Linked DNA regions of Homo sapiens: region 2 is linked to region 1. The links are contacts of gene promoters, found by promoter capture Hi-C in blood cells and fetal thymus (Javierre and others, 2016). All regions are on one chromosome and are shown on one strand. Each heading gives the region's core, a stretch centred on a gene start or on the middle of the fragment in contact. The rest is flanking DNA. Distances are from core to core; before and after follow the strand shown.

The links. The method cuts DNA at HindIII sites, captures the fragments that hold promoters and counts their contacts. A CHiCAGO score of 5 or more calls a contact.
Region 2: a fragment that was not itself captured here is called in contact with the fragment with the promoter of ATP6AP2 in region 1 in 1 of 17 cell types (neutrophils); the score reaches 6.7 in neutrophils.

What each region holds. Positions count from the first base shown.
Region 1 is chrX:40,577,384-40,582,332 of GRCh38, forward strand. ATP6AP2 (ATPase H+ transporting accessory protein 2) reads left to right here and starts at 3,587. Exons shown (of 9, transcript NM_005765.3): 1 at 3,587-3,719. The coding sequence starts at 3,683. RefSeq lists enhancers at 3,087-3,236, 3,287-3,496 and a silencer at 3,657-3,966. The HindIII fragment of the contact is 11,326 bases long and covers 1-4,949 here.
Region 2 is chrX:41,110,291-41,115,986 of GRCh38, forward strand. All of the region lies in intron 1 of USP9X (ubiquitin specific peptidase 9 X-linked), which reads left to right. Among named protein-coding and RNA genes, the nearest start is that of USP9X, 28 kb to the left of the region's middle. RefSeq lists a silencer at 4,360-4,492. The HindIII fragment of the contact is 2,193 bases long and covers 3,256-5,448 here.

The DNA.
Region 1 (4,949 bases), core at 2,337-4,836:
CTCCCAAACTGCTGGGATTACAGGTGTGAGCCACCGCGCCCAGCCCAGACTTTCCTTGTTTTTGATGACTTCTGAGGAGCAGCAGTCAGATATTTTGTAGAATGCCCCTCTATTGGCATTTATCTGATGTTTTTCTCATGATTACACTGGGGTTATGGGTATGGGGGAGGAAGATCATAGAGGTGAAGTGCCTGCCATTATCATTGTATCACATCAAGGGCACACACTGTCAACATGACCGATCACTGTTGGTGTTGACCTTGATCACATCGCCTAGATAGTATTTGTTGGGTTTTTGCACTGCAAAGCTGCTCTCCCCTCCCCCACACCTTTCCATAGTGTATATAGTACCTTTTGAAGAACATAAATTCTTAATTTTAACTGCATGGTCTGGGAGAGGGGCATGATCTTCGCCTCCACAGGGCTCCTGGATGGGATGTCTCATTTGCAGGGATCAGCTCATGTTATCGCGCTCACTCCGGGATCACTCAGAACTCACTGCTGGACTTAATTGGGGGACGAGGGCGAGACTTAAGGAAGCAAATGGAATTATGTATTCTTTCAAATCTTGCATCTGGACCTCTAGTTTTGAAACTCAAGAGCCAAGAATTTGACATTTGTTTTCAGGTTCTCCTGAGAGTCCTCCCCTCAGGGCAACGGATGGCTGCAGTCTTGCCTATTTGGCCTGTGGGGAGGGTGGAGAAAGGCTTCTTTTAGGCTAACAAATGGGGTCATAACTTCAAATATTGTATTACCCTGCTACACACATATCCATCTCTAAATGCTTCAGTGGAAAAGTTAACCGCACATCACCAGTTGTTTACTGAGCGCTAAAGATTGAATCAGCAGGGCTGCATTCACGAAGCAGAACTGCTGACGATTCAGAATATGACCTTGAGTACATATGCCCTTCCCTAGGCTTCAATCTCTCAATCTATGAAACAAGGAGAGGGCTTCCGACAATGTTTATCTTGCTAAATTCCAAGGTTGTAGAGAACAACAATGCCCCTTTGCAACCTCAGGTGAAAAGGGCCCTTAGGTGTAAAGAATACACTATTCGCTGTTAGCTCAAAAGGGGATGTTATTTCTCAAGACATAAATGGATTGTGAAAGATTGTGAGGTTTTCTGGGGGAATGGGGGGGTGGGGACTTATTTTATATTCCAGTCTATTTACAAATTTTTTCATCTTCCTCAAATTCAAAGAAATAAGAATGTACTAGAAGTCTTAAGAACAGAAACATTCACTCCTTTCCCTGTTTCCTTAAGCTGGATGAAATGGCAGGAGGTCTGCTCCACTTTTAGCTGATTATGTCCCTAAATAAGGTTTAGATAAGTTCTTGCAGGGCCTGTGATTCAAAACCTGTTCTAAGACATGCAGGGAGATGGACAAAGAATTTTAGTTGGTGTGAAAAGATTGTGAATTTATCATGCTTAAAAATGAATTTTTAAAAATGATTAATTTTTTTCCGCCGGGAGCAGTGGCTCACGCCTGTAATCTCAGCACTTTGGGAGGCTTTAGTGGGTGGATCGCCTGAGGTCAGGAGTTCGAGACCAGCCTGGCCAACATGGTGAAACCCCGTCTCTACTAAAAATACAAAAATTAGCCGGGCGTGGTGGTTGGCGCCTGTAATCCCAACTACTTGGGAAGCTGAGGCAGGAGAATTGCTTGAACTCGGGAGTTGGAGGTTGCAGTGAGCTGAGATCGCACCACTGCACTCCAGCCTGGGCAACAAGAGGGAAACTTCGTCTCAACAACAACAAAAAAAGTGATTAATTTTTTTCGAGTCAGTCACATTAGAGTGGATGTTTTGGAGGGGTGCTTTAGACATTTTGGTTCTAATAATTTCACATGCCTGATGGAAAAATCTCTCTTCTCCCTTTCAGAGTTCTCTAAAGTCCCATTTGTACAAATTCTCCTCTAGAGGAAAAGCAAGTTTGAGAGTTTCCTGTTTCTTGACGTTAGGTGAGGAAATCGACTCTGTTCCCTAAATTTGAGAGTGGCTTTGGTAAGCATAGTGTGTTCTAGAAAGTTCAAACTATTTAGTGAGTGTTTCTCTTTTTTTGCTTTCTTTATTTTCTAATAATAAAAAGACAGGGCCTCACTATGTTATCCAGGCTGGTTTTCAACTCCTGGTGTCAAAGGATCTTCCCACCTCGGCCTCTCAAAGCGCTGGGATTACAGGTGTGAGCCACCACACCTGGCCTCGAGAGTGTCTTTCTGATTCAGTTTTCAGTTGGGCAAGGTTTTCCTAGGGTGGGTCTGCTACCTGGGGAACTCCTGGGGTCACTGTTTTTAACTCGCTCTCATTTTTTCATCCTCAGGAAACTCCAAGAAGAAAATGGGACTGGAAACTGAAGAAACAGTAAGGCATTCCCCCCCTCCCCCCCGCCAATAAGTCTGTCTTACATTTGTGCAGTAAATCATGCTCAAACGCCTTCAATGGCTTAGTGTAGGTCTCTTATGTACAATTTAAAATCCTCAATAAATGTGCCTAACTGAAAGTTTTAGCTCTGTGCCTCCTCTCTCATATAATCTCTTATTTGATTACTGATGCTTAACCTGACGGGGCTTTCTCCCCACCTTAACTACAGTTTTCACTGGAACAATCTCCCCATCTCCTATCCTTGGATATGAAATCATTTCCACCTTTCAAGGTCATCAGCTGGGGCGTCATTTTCTACCTACAGACGCTATAGTGTGTCCCTTCTTGCCTCACATCATAGGCAAAAGACTATGAACTGCGGGAGGGGAGGAGCCTGGTCTAATTACTATGTCTAGCCTTCATACATCCTCATAGAACACCTTGCCCAGATTGGAAACTGAGTGAATGGACAAATTAAGTAATTAATTAACTTTCTGTCCCATGACTCCTTGTAGATTGGAAAGTCTTTGGAGGTAGAGTTGCCAGACTTAGCGAATCAAAATATAGGATACCCAGTTATATTTGAATTTCAGATAACCAGTAATACTTCTTTTAATACAAGTATGTCCCATAAATTAATTGCGACATAATAACAAATAATCGTTGTTTACATGAAATTCAAATTTAACTGGGCGCCCTGTATTTTATCTGGCACCACTATGTGGAAGGCAGGGGTTCCCCGTTGCGCCTGGCTTCTTCCCAGTAGGTGCTCGGCGTCTGTATACTTGTTAGAGCGAAACCCCAACCAGCCCCGCCTTTCACAGCTGGCGTCCGTAGCCGGGCGGAGGCACACGACCAGGAAAGACAGACACCCTGGTTGGAGACCGTCGCTCGAGACTGGCAGAAAGATCTGCACTCGGGAGGCACCCTCACCCCGTGGGCTCCGGGACCCCTCGACTAGCTCCATCACCCATTCCGACTACCCGCCCTACGCTCCACCTCTTGACCCGTCATCACCGACCGGGGGGCGGGACTGCCCGACTTTTCAATCGCTGCCTACCATTGGTAGAACTCTCCATCCGTTACTTTAAGTCCCGCCTATCAGGCTGTCGCTTCCCAGGTTACGTCCCTTCCGTAGGCCGCGGCGTAACTGGTGATTGGTGGAGAAAGCGGCAGCTGTCCCAGCGGAAGCGACGAAGGGACGGGACCCGGGAGCCTGGACGAGTCCGAGCGCGTCACCTCCTCACGCTGCGGCTGTCGCCCGTGTCCCGCCGGCCCGTTCCGTGTCGCCCCGCAGTGCTGCGGCCGCCGCGGCACCATGGCTGTGTTTGTCGTGCTCCTGGCGTTGGTGGCGGGTGAGGAGCCGGGGGCCGGCAGGACGTGCCTGGGGAGGTCCTGCGCCGCGGGGCTTGGGGGTCGGGGGCGGCCGCGGGCGAGTAGCTGCGAGGCAGGTGCCGCAGTGCGGTCCGTCAGCGGCGGCCTCGCCTCAGCCGCGTCCCCGTCAGCATCTTCTCTGGATCGGCCGTGGCGGCGCGGCCTCACGGGCCGCCGGGGCCGGGGCTGGGCTGCGTAGGGGGCCCCTGAGCCTGCCTCCACCCTCCACTTTGAGGGCGGCGCGTCCGGCCGGCTTCTTGCGCCTGAAAAGGCCCTTCAGAGTACGGAGATGCATTTCTCAGTGAACTGGGATTGAGTCGCAGCCCGCTGCGAAGAAGAGAAGGCAGACTTTTTAGCTGCCACTGGCTGCCACGATGTTTTTGCATTTGTATGGTGCCTTCATTTCTAGTGGTTGTCATCAGTAATTGCTGAAATCCCTGCCCCTCCCTTCCCTTATGTATATTTCCGGATGCAAAAGTTGAGATGGAGTCATTATTTTTATATGACTTATATTTCTTAAGGCGAATACAAAGCACCTCTCAATAGTTTGTCAGAGTTCCAAATTTTAAGGATTTGGAAACAGGATGTGAGTCGCATTTTTAGGGTCACATGTCAATAAATGGTAGCTTTCTGAGTAGAACCTAGATTCCTAAGCATTCAGCAAGAGGTGAAGAAATCAGCTAATACGTGGCCTCTTACTGCATATCATGTGGTAATGTATTTCATTTGACAGCAGTCCTTAGAGGGCATCATCTTTGTTTTGCAGGGTGATCAACCTAAATAAATTACCCAACACTAAACAGGTTGGGTGCTGGATTTGATTTCAGATGAGGTGGTGCCAGCGCATCGGCCTTTTCCATTATATATGTTGTGTTGCACAAGTAACGCTATTACTGTGTGAGAATGTGGGAGTGATGGGGACTGAGACTGGAGGCACAGACAGTAGTGAACAAGAGGCCAAGTTGAGAACGGCTTGGAGGAATGGGTGCTCTGATCTCAGTGTGTCAGTTTAAAACCTATGGGAGGCCGGGCGCGGTGGTTCACGCCTGTAATCCCGGCACTTTGGGAGGCCGAAGCAGGCAGATCACCTGAGGTCAGGAGTTTGAGACCAGCCTGGCCAACAAGGCAAAACGCCATCTCTACTGCAAATATAAAAATTAGCCGGGTGTGTTGGGGCACACCTGTAATCCCAGCTACTCAGGAGGCTGAGG
Region 2 (5,696 bases), core at 3,102-5,601, 530 kb after region 1:
TAGTTCCTTGATATGTACTATAACAGTGACAACGATACTTAACATGCAGAAATTGTGAATTAAGTGAAAAATCCAATTTTGTAAAACATGTTTCTGCATCAAAAACTAAACAGTTTGTCTTGGGAGTGGGGTTATGGTGAGATTAATGGTAGTTTCCCCCTCCCTTTTCTGACATTATTGATGTATGGTGTGATAGTTAAAACTGTAGGACACTGGCACTTGTACTGTCTGAGTTTGAATCCTGGCTCCTACCACTTTGACAGCCTGTAGTCCTCTGTCCCAGTTTTTTTACTCATGAAATTGGGCTGATAATAGGGTTGTTCTAAGGATTAACTTGCTTAGAATAGTGCCTGAGACAAATACTTAAATGTTAGCTATTGTCACTATTAATGAGGAAAATGTTATTTAAAATTTGAGGTGTGTCAACCTGGCTGCACTAGTATTGAAGTTGGGAAATGAGAGACAAAGTTGGAAAAATAAGTTAAAGGCTGATTATGAATGACCTTGAATATGTACCAGATGGAGAAGAGAAGCCATTCAAGGTTTTAGAGATTGAAAGTGTTGAGATTAATTTAGCATTAATATACTGAACGATTGGTATGGTAGTGTGGACGCTAGCCAGGATGCTGTTAAAATAGGAGTCTAGGCTAGAGTGGTTTGAGTGGGAGTGGAAAAGATAACATTGGACACATCATGAAAGAAGAATGGAGGAGATGGGAAGGGAGAGATTTGACTTTGTTTTTACTGTATTTCCCCACACTCCCAATTTTAGTTTTGAGCACTGCTATAGACTGAACGTTTGTCTCCACCCCTCCACCTCGCAAATTCATATGTTGAAACCTAACCCTCATGTGATGAGGTGGGGCCTTTGGGAGGTGATTGGGTCACGAGAGTGGAACCTTCACAAATGGGATTAGTGCCCTTGTATTAATAAAAGAGACTCCAGGGAGTTCCCTCACTCTTTCTGCCTTGTGAAGATACAGTAAGAAGATTGCTATCTGTAAACCAGAACGCAGGCCTTCACCAGACGCTAAATATGCTTGGCACCTTGATCTTAGACTCCCCAGCCTCCAGAACTGTTAAGTGTTACTTGAGCCACTCACTCTGAGCTTTTGTTACAGAAGGGGCTAAGACAAACAAACACCTGTTGTTTGCCAATGAATCCTTGGGATTCAGTGATGAGCAAAGCTTGCATAGCTTCTGCCCTTAAGGAGCTTTTATGTTTTAGTAAGAAGATAAACTCACACAGGTGCTATGAGAAAATAGGGTAGCTGGCTCCTAGAGTCTAGGATGTGAGTACTTGATGAATCCTGAGTCAGGAGAGTTGGGAGCTGCTGAATTAATATGGGTAAAACTAAGCAGACTGCTTTGTTCAGAGGCTCTCAGAGGTGGCATGAAGGAGCACTTTGTGAAGGAACAACAAGAAGGCAAATTGAACTGGAGTTTGAACAAGCTTTGGCTGGGGTTAGCTGCAAGATGAGGCTGGAATTGGGTGTTTGAGGGCCTTGTAGACCATTAGATAAGTATTTTGATCTTCATCCTGGTCTTTGAAGATTTTTTTTTTTTTTTTTTGAGACGGAGTTTCACTCTTGTTGCCCAGGCTGGAGTGCGGTGGCACAATCTTGGCTCACTGCAACCTCCACGTCCCGGGTTCAAGCAGTTCTCCTGCCTCAGCCTCCCTAGTAGCTGGGACTACAGGCATGCACCACCATGCCCGGCTAATTTTGTATTTTTAGTAGAGATGGGGTTTCTCCACGTTGGTCAGGCTGGTCTCGAACTCCCGACCTCAGGTGATCTGCCTGCCTTGGCCTCCCAAAGTGCTGGGATTACAGGCGTCAGCCACTGCGCCCAGCCAGTCTTTGAAGATTTTTAAGCAGTGCTGTGACATATTTTGCATTTCAGTAAAACTCATAGTGATGATTTTTAATACCGAAAGAACAAAACAATTGTAGGAATGGATGCAGGCCTGACAGTCACTGCTTTCAAAAGAAAGCTCAATCCCTTTTCCCTGTTGTTTCCTTTTCTCCCCGTTTGAATTTATAGAGAACAACAGATTCTGTAGAGAACCTTCATGGTATAGTTGGAAGAGCCAAGGGTTTTAGAGTCTTAACGGAAATTATTGTGATCTTGTATAAGCTCAGTGTACTTAATCTCTTAGCTTCTATTTATGTCTGTTAAATTGGACTGATGGCTGTATGAGATAGGTATTATGATTAAATGAGATTATACAAATAAAGCACCTACTGTTGTGCTTGATACACAAGTAAGTACTTAAAACTTTTCAAGAATAATATACAAACTAAGAACTGGAAAGGAGCCACAGAGAACTTTTGAATGGAATGGAACCAACAAGTCCACAAAAGAAAAAAAATCTTTAGCATAAATACTGAGACCTGTTTCGCCTTGCCCACAGGGTGGTTATGGACCATAGTGTCTAAATATAATTGATTGTGAGGTGTATGCTACAAGTAATTATAAGCAATTAAATAATTAGTTAAAATAGTAATGTTTGCAAATGAGATTACCTAAAAATATTAGAGTCAAGATTATCCCCTTAATAATTATTTTCACTCACATTTCATGTGTTTTCGATTGAGGCACCAAAAGAATCCTTGAAGTCCAGCATATAAGCTATTAATGTTTGCTGTTTTTATTTTGTGCTCTGCTTTATACAGTTTTTGTTTTTTGGCAATTTCTCTGTGTCCATAGAAGTGTGTCAAACCTGTGATAACCTTATTTTAGTGTCCTTTCTCATGCTGTGGTAGAAAAACTGCTGTGTAGGTTACTTTTTCTTCTAGACAACAATGCACTAAAATTTTGTCTTTAAAAACATAATTGAATCTGTCATAGCAACAGCATGTTCAATTTAAAAATTCAAAAAGATCTAAACTTGGCTTAAAAATACGTTTTTTTGTTGTTGTTTTTATTTGAGATGGAGTCTCGCTCTGTCGCCCGGGCTGGAGTGTAGTGGTGCGATCTTGCTCTCTGCAAGCTCTGCCTCCTGGGTTCACACCATTCTCCTGCCTCAGCCTCCCGAGTAGCTGGGACTTCAGGCACCTGCCACCATGCCCGACTAATTTTTTGTATTTTTAGTAGAGACAGGGTTTCACCGTGTTAGCCAGGATGGTCTCCAACTCCCGATTTGTGATCTGCCCGCCTCGGCCTCCCAAAGTGCTGGGGTTACAGGCATGAGCCACCGCGCCTGGCCAAAAATAAGTATTTTTGTACTCTAAAATGGTGGGCATTTTGAAAGAAAGCTTAGCTGAAAAGATGCTGCTTACTGGATTGTAATAAACATGAAACAATTGATTTATACATTCACATTATAATTTTAAATCAGTATATAGTTGACCCTTGAACAACATGGGTTCAAACTGTGTGGTCCACTTTCACTGCAGATTTTTTTCAATAAATATATTGGAAAATATTTTGGAGATTTGTGACAATTTGAAAAAAACAGGATAAACTGCATAGCTTGGAAATACTGAAAAAATTAAGAAAGGTGTGTCATGAACGCGTAAAATACATGTAGATAATAATCTATTTACTACCATAAAATATACATAAATCTATTATAAATTTAACATTTATCAAAACTTAATGCACACAAACGTTTTTATAGACCACATGTGGTGCCACGTGCAGTTGAGAGAAATGTGAACAAATGTAAAGATGGATTAAGTCATAACTGCATAAAATTAACTAGTACATTCTCTACTACTGTAATTTCATAGCCATCTCCTTTTGCTACTGCGATGAGTTTGTTGTAAGTATCCGATGAAAATATGTGACGCTGATCTCTGCATGAGCAGTTCATCTCTCCAGTAAATGGTCTATCATAGTAAAAAATGATCTCTCATGTTCTCATGTATTTTTCATCATGTTTAGTGCAATACCATAAACCTTGAATAACATTACGGGACTCATGAAGTGTCACTAGTGGTGCTGGCGAACAGGCTCCCAAGAAGCAGAGAAAAGTCATGACGTTATAATGTTCTGCAAAGTTTCTTATAAGAAAAAGTTGAATTGCTTGATAGGTACCATAGATTGAGGTCTGAGGTCTGCAGCTGTGGTTGTCCGCCATTTCAGATGATTGATCTTGTAAACAGATGATGTAATTTTACTTTATTGGTAAAAACAGTACAGTACTATAAATACATTTTCTGATTTTCTTCTTTCCTTTTTTTTCCCTTTTCTTTTTTTTTTTTTTGAGACTATCTCACTCTGTCACCCAGGCTAGAGTGCAGTGGTGCGATCTTAGCTCGCTGCAACCTCCACCTCCCGAGTTCAAGCGATTCTCTGCCTCAGCCTCCCTAGTAGCTGGGATTAAAGGTGCACACCATCACACCTGGCTAATTTTTTTTGCATTTTTTATTAGAGACGGGGTTTTACCATGTTGGCCAGGCCGGTCTCAAACTCCTGACTTCAAGTGATCCGCCCGCCTCAGCCTCCCAAAGTGCTGGGATTACAGGTGTGTGAGTCACCACCCCTTCTGAGTTTCTTTTTTTCTCTAGCTTGCTTTATTGTAAGAATACAGTATTATAATACATGTAACAAAATATGTTAGTCGCCTCTTTATGATCAGTAAGGCTTCTTGTCATCAGTATGCTGTTAGTAGTTAAGTTTCTGAGGAATCAAAAGTTATTTATGGGCCGGGCGCAGTGGCTTATGCCTGTAATCCCAACACTTTGAGAGGCCGAGGCGGGTGGATCACGAGGTCAGGAGTTTTAGACCAGCCTGGCCAACATAGTGAAAACCCATCTCTACTAAAAATACAAAAATTAGCCCGGCATTGTGGCACCTGCCTGTAGTCCCAGCTGCTTGGGAGGCTAAGGCAGGAGAATCACTTGAAACCAGGAGGCAGAGGTTGCAGTGAGCCGAGATTGTGCCACTGCACTCTAGCCTGGGCAACAGAGCAAGACTCCGTCTCCAAAAAAAAAAAAAAGAAAAAGAAAAAAAAAAAAAGTAGTGAGGTCTGGCGCCCTCTACTGGTGAAGGCTAAGTATAGCTTGTGTTGTACAGTTAGGTCTCTTGTCTCTAGTGAGTCAAATATTTTAATGGAAAAACAAGGGTTATAGATGTCGGTTAAACATAGAAATTTGAAAGGAAGAGAAGTAATTCCCTTTGATTGTTGGTGCATAAAACCGGAATAGGCAAAATTCACAAGTCAAGATTAATTTCCAAGTCAAGATAATTTCCATGTTTGAGCTTAAGGATGATCTATCAAATTGTTTTCTAAGAAACTCATTTCACTTTGATGTCCAGTAAAGGAAATAATCTGGTAGGGGGTTGGAGTTGCTGTTGCTTGTTTATTGTCTCTATCCCCAGTCTGTAATGTTCCACAAAAGCAGAGATATTTGATGCACTGTGTACTTCCATATATTCTCCTATGATTAGAACAATATGTGACCCATTGCAGATGCTCAGTACACAATTTTTGAATGACTAAGCTTTGAGTTTTTATTTAAACACCTTTTTTTTGGATGAAAAGAAAAATTGAGAGAAGAAAATCTTAAGTATCCTAGGATCATATGTAGAATCAGAGGATTTCAACGTGCTGTATAAAAGGAGAGAGATTCTGGAACATAGGGCAAATTTTAGCAGAGTTGGGATAATGACTGGGTAAGAAAGGATAATTCTTTGTTCTAAAAGGGATTTCTCTGGTATTAAGGCCCTGTGTGAAAGCTGCTGGAGAA